2 separate regions of the Homo sapiens genome follow, and region 1 is linked to region 2. Evidence: promoter capture Hi-C in 16 types of primary human blood cells and fetal thymus (Javierre and others, 2016). All regions are on one chromosome and are shown on one strand. Each heading gives the region's core, a stretch centred on a gene start or on the middle of the fragment in contact. The rest is flanking DNA. Distances are from core to core; before and after follow the strand shown. Region 1 overlaps NEK1 (NIMA related kinase 1). Region 2 holds the start of PALLD (palladin, cytoskeletal associated protein).

What was found. The method cuts DNA at HindIII sites, captures the fragments that hold promoters and counts their contacts. A CHiCAGO score of 5 or more calls a contact.
Region 1: a fragment that was not itself captured here is called in contact with the fragment with the promoter of PALLD in region 2 in 2 of 17 cell types (total B cells and naive B cells); the score reaches 10.7 in total B cells.

What each region holds. Positions count from the first base shown.
Region 1 is chr4:169,476,854-169,479,886 of GRCh38, reverse strand. It overlaps NEK1 (NIMA related kinase 1), which reads left to right. Exons shown (of 36, transcript NM_001199397.3): 24 at 353-484; 25 at 2,390-2,455; 26 at 2,535-2,763. Among named protein-coding and RNA genes, the nearest start is that of NEK1, 130 kb to the left of the region's middle. The HindIII fragment of the contact is 1,224 bases long and covers 1,027-2,250 here.
Region 2 is chr4:168,495,287-168,498,443 of GRCh38, reverse strand. PALLD (palladin, cytoskeletal associated protein) reads right to left here and starts at 1,392. Exons shown (of 22, transcript NM_001166108.2): 1 at 1,250-1,392. All of the region lies in intron 1 of LOC107986198 (a long non-coding RNA gene), which reads left to right. The HindIII fragment of the contact is 1,197 bases long and covers 1,001-2,197 here.

The DNA.
Region 1 (3,033 bases), core at 389-2,888, 980 kb before region 2:
GGAATTACAAAAGCATTTCTTTTAGAAGTGTAAGATTAACAAAATCTTACACTTGAATCTTTAAAAGACAGTTTTTCAGGATCATTTCATGAAACATTGATAATGCAATGAAAGCGGGTTATTTAGGACTATGTGACATGACTATGTGTACATCTGAGACCAGAGATTTTTTTCTCTAGTCACTGCTGTATCCCCAGCATGTAGCATCATAATGCCTTGCTCAACAGATAATTCAGGAATGAAAAAAACTACTTGTGGATAGAGTGGATAAATAGTGATCTGGTAGGTACCATTTTATTTCTTCATACAAATATAAAATCCCTAATGTATTTAATAAAATCCTTTTTTATAGTTGGTGGCTAAAGGAGTTAAGAGTTCTGATGTTTCTCCACCTTTGGGACAGCATGAAACAGGTGGCTCTCCATCAAAGCAACAGATGAGATCTGTTATTTCTGTAACTTCAGCTTTGAAAGAAGTTGGCGTGGTAAGTTTCCTAAGATTCAGAACTCCTCAAAGTCAAAAGATTATTTAAAAGGAAATTAAATTTAATGAAATCACATTAATCCCTAATGTCCCTTTCAGGTTTTTCTAAGGAAAAAAATTACTTTTTAAGGGATTTTAGTTTACTCAGAATACTGGAGCCTCATTGTTTATAAGTTTTATATCTAGGACCACGTGGTAGATGAAAATATATCACAATAACTCTTATATTACTTTAAAAGAATATTGAAAAAATAAAATATACAGAGAAATGTACTGAAAATAATACTATAAACATTTTTCTACCCAACCCTCATGATTAACAAATGTTCACTTTAAAAAGAATAATGTCTCTTTGGTGCTAAAGTAGCTCTAGGTATTAGGTCCAACACATATTTACATTTATTCAAATTTTGTGACATGGCAAATGTTAGAGGACTCAGTAGAACTAGTTAATTCATCAGTTATTCCTTTTACCTTCTACTTCTGAATCTCTGTCATGCCCTACAGATAGTAAAACAAAGAAACATAGACAAATAAAAAGCTTAAACTTAGAAGTATATTTCAGGTATCTGTCTGAAGTGTGAAGACTGTTCAGGGGTTAAGAGAAGTGGGCTCATAGTGTGGAGCTGCGGCCTAGAATTCAACAGACAGGAGGAGAAAAGTCTACTGAATCAGATAACATAATAACTTCATTTTCCCCTTTCCTGGTAATGGATGTCTGTGCTTTTTATTTGTTTAGTTTCAGTAAATATTTGCAGACAAAATTGGTACACTAGCTGTTTTTTTTTATAGCCTTTGGGTTGATTTTGAAAATAAAACTCAGTAGGAAAATATAAGTTTCTTGATCATTCTCAAGAACTTCATGTAAGAAACTATTGTTCTTCAAGTAGGCTTAGTCACTTTTTCTTTCTGATAACGACTTTGCGTGTGCCACGTTGTTACTCCAACTTTAGATACCACTGTGTGGTCCCTCCTTGGTACCCAGTCTCACATCTCAATAGCTGTTCATCTCTCTGGTTGTAGGACTGCTAATTCCTGACTACTTTACTGGGTAAAATGTTCTTTGTCTCATTGCTTCATATATTACTTTGAAACTGACCACCAAATTTTTAATTTTTTTTAAGTATTACAAAATTCGAGGTAATCCATATAACTGAACGGTTTTCTTTCTGTGTTGTGTTGGTAAATGTCACTTACTTAAAACTTAGAAAATTGTTCTTTGAATCTTCTACATGCCTTTGCTTTCATAGCTTTCGTAACTGCTAATTTCTTCTTTTCGTATGTTTTTTAATTTTAGATAGTCTGGATTGCTTTGACAATGCTAATTAGGAGATAACATTTATGTCATTTGTAGTACAAATGACTCAGAACTAATTTTTGTTACACTCTTTGTTTAGGGAGGAAAGCCACTTCTCAATTACATTTAGTACTATGGCTTAACAAGGATATATATACATGAAACATAAAGACAGTTTTAGAATAACACAGCCTATTTTGAATTACTTCATCTATCAAAACTTTTTCTAGTTATAATTAAGAGAGTATATGAATTTTCCTCTAATTTCTACTTTTTCCTCTAATTTCTACTTTTTCCTCTAATTTTCTGACTTAAATTACCAAAAAATCAGGTACCAAAGAGGAAGAGGATATAGTTAATTATGTGAGCAGTAATCTAAAAATATGACAAATAATTGAGAATTGGCCCCTGTCTATGTTGTCTAATTAATAATATTTAAAGGTTAGTCATTGCTGATAATGAAGGAAGCTTTGTTAACATTTTATAGGAATAAAAAATTTACAAGGAACAAATTAATGAAAACCAAAAAGTAACGAGGATGTAATATTTTTAAAGGTAGATTTAAAAAAATAAAATTATCTCTTCCTCTGTATCTATCTGCATTTAAAGGACAGTAGTTTAACTGATACCCGGGAAACTTCAGAAGAGATGCAAAAGACCAACAATGCTATTTCAGTAAGTAAAATTTTCAAAGTTTATCAATCATTTTACTTAATGATATACATATTAAAATATATAATGTCGTGACTTTCAGAGTAAGCGAGAAATACTTCGTAGATTAAATGAAAATCTTAAAGCTCAAGAAGATGAAAAAGGAAAGCAGAATCTCTCTGATACTTTTGAGATAAATGTTCATGAAGATGCCAAAGAGCATGAAAAAGAAAAATCAGTTTCATCTGATCGCAAGAAGTGGGAGGCAGGAGGTCAACTTGTGATTCCTCTGGATGAGTTAACACTAGATACATCCTTCTCTACAACTGAAAGTATGTATAGTAGTATATTAATATCCTATTTAGGTCTAGTACATATGTAAACTTATAGACTAACCACTCTGAAAAAAATGAACACTTAGAAGAATTGAGAGAAGCTGAAAGAATTCTATATATTTTCCTTTTGGGCGAATAGAAGTGCCTCCCTCTCACAGTGAAATGTGAAGAGCAGAGAAAACTAATCAAACTAATCAGCCTTAATAGCAAGGATTTTTATTACAAAAGTGTATAGTGTGAGAGAGGGAACTAATGATACATATTTAA
Region 2 (3,157 bases), core at 143-2,642:
TAAGGAGGTCAAAGTGATTGTACTTGTCCAGTGCAATCCAGATCCTCATTCTATTGTGAAATATGCTATAAGGCCAGTTTTAATATTCAGCTCTAGCAATAACAGAGAAACCCAGAGGAAGAGCTGACACAGAACCCCTGGGATACAGACCCTAATCCATACCAGATTCTAGGATGCCAGAGGACTAATTTATATTCTAGGAATGTGTAATCATGTATTTACAGGGCAGTTAGTGGCCAGATAAACCTCATCGGCCTTTTCTGCTGTTAGCAATAACTTGTCAAAGAGACTTTGATTTTAAAAATCTGAAAAAAAAATCTGAATAATTGAGGTGAGTATTCAAGTTCTTTCTGTGAGAAAAAACATTGGAAGGCACATTTATCATGAAATGAGGATTTAATTTCTGCATATATGTGATTGAATAGATTTGTAATAGTTTTATATTGCCAAGAAATGGCTTTATATGTCACCACATTATTCATACTAGAAGGCAATTAGTATTTTTAGCAAATGTTAATAAGTAATATGAGCCTGAAATCATTTTATGTCAACCTCCTATATTGGATTCAAGACAATTTCATGTGCAACTTAAAACAACATGATAAAAATTATTCTGTGATGTTTAAACTTGACTGGACTCGAGATTGCACTGTGGTTTCCCTTAGTAAGCGTTATCTTATTAAAAATATGTATGTAAATTTTATGCATGAATATAATTTAAAATACCTGCTGTTACTATCCCAACTCATTTAATTATGTCCAGTGAGTTACTTTTAGAATCTTTTGAAAGTGTAATTAACAATTTATAATGTTACTGAAATCTAAGGTCTATCACTTTAAGCCATCATCACTTATCTAGCTTAAATATGGGTGAGGGTCTAGAAAGCTGCGTTTTCCTTTTCTGTGAAACATAACACATACACGATCTTGACAAAAGCTGGCTCCATAAATACATTTAATCCTTTTGGAATTGATAGCACCATCTTAGCATGCTTAAGCTTATAACAGAAAGTGTAATTCTCTGACAGCAAAGGCAGAGATGAAGTGGGCAGGCAAATCTTACGTATTATCTGTTTTTGGCAAAACCGTAACATTCTCATTACGTTTCCTCTCCAAGCAAAAGAATAATTAAGGTATCTTGTAAATAGTATCATATCTTCAGAAAAACTTTTGTATTTTTAGTTTTTTTTTTTTTAAGTCCTTAAAATGTTGCCCTACTAGTTAGTATATTAAGATACACCTTACAGACCTTTTCAATGCTTGGTCAGTTTGAAGACTCCAGAGAGGTGATGAATTTCAGATGAGCATTTCTTCTTTTCTGGGAGAATGGAGGTTGTGGCCTTGCCTATTCATTAGAGACTGCCTGGTCCGTGGTCACTTTGAGGCAACTGTGGCCTCAGACTCTCATCTGTCCTCTTACTCCACTCAGCTATATTTGGTAACTGAGCTCATGTTTCAGCAGACTGCCACGATCAGGAATTCCAGCAGCGGGCTGGGAAGCACCCCCAGGACCGAGGGCTGGGTTCTTAGAAATAAAGCCACTTAACATAGAAGGAACTATATTTATGGATCTGATAAACGTAGGATTTAAACACATTCTTCTATACTTTGGACTTGTAGCTGGAAATCACCACCTGGACCTTTAACATGTTCTTAATCAATTTAAAGTACAGTATGTGACTCCAAGTAGAAAAAGTGATAATCCAAATGGAAGCTCTTCTTACTCTGATCTTCTGTTCTGTGCATTTAAATTTTGGTCATGTGCTAGATTACCCTAAAATAGTAAATTCAGTAACTGAAAATTTAGCCACCTGTCAAATTGAGTGGAAAGTCCCATTGTTCTCTTATTTCATATTGCTAATTAAAAATTGATATATGACTATGGTATGTATTAAAGGCCTTGTCTATAATAGTATTAAATAAGTATGAACACACAGGGACTGGATCTTATCCACATTGCAACATTGAGTTCTTAGCTCAATGCCTAGGACATCATGAGCATCTCTTAAATATTTGTCAAAGAAATAAATGAATGTTGAATGAATAATATTCAGGAAAAGTATCAACCCTCTTACAGTTGCAAAAAATGTTTCACAATCATTTAATATTTTGATCTTTCAAATGACAAATAGATATAGCAAGAGTTTAATATTTTGATCTTTTAAATAACAAACATAGATAGCAAGAAGAGAAAGCTTTTCTGTTTAAAGGTCAGGTAGCAGAATCAAATATAAGGGGGGCAAAAAGAGCAACACAAAAGCTCCCAGTTAACTTGGAAATGGGGTGCTGAGTCTTCCTTTGTCTGGGTAAGACCATCACATTTGATTCAGTTTAATATCTAAATATTTTTTCTTTTCTGATGTTAGAAAATTTGTGAAGGTCTGCTATTGTATTTTCTTTATAGGCCAAACTGGTCCTTTAGAAATGGTCCTTTCTGTGAGTGGATACTTCTGTGGGTCATTTCATCTATTATATTAATTAAGAAGTGATTTTAAAATTTATACTTACGGCTGGGCGTGGTGGCTTATGCCTGTAATTGCAGTACTTTGGGAGGCCGAGGTGGGTGGATCATGAGGTCAGGAGATTGAGACCATCCTGGCTAACACAGTGAAACCCCCTCTCTACTAAAAATACAAAAAATTAGCTGGGCGTGGTGGCGGGTGCCTGTAGTCCCAGCCACTTGGGAGGCTGAGGCAGGAGAATGGTGTGAACCCGGGAGGCGGAGCTTGCAGTGAGCCGAGATCCCATCACTGCACTCCAGCCTGGGTGACAGAGCGAGACTCCTTCTTAAAAAAAATAAAAATAAAAATAAAAAAATAAAATTTATACTTACAAGGAAATATAACTCTGATTGATTGTCTTAGTTTGTGTCATTATAACAAAATGCCACAGACTGGGTAATTTACAAAGAACAGAAATTGATTTCTCATAGTTCTGGAGGCTGGGAAGTCTAAGATCAAGGTGCCAGCAGGTTTGTTGTCTGGTGAAGTTCCTGTCTCTGCTTCCACAGTGATGCCTTGAGCACTGTGTCCTCACATGGCAGAAGGTGGAAGGGCAAGAGGGGGTCAAACTTCCTCCATCAAGCCCTAAGGGCATCAAATCCCATTCATGAGGAGTCCTCCTGAATCACCTTCTAAACGTTACACCTCCTGATACT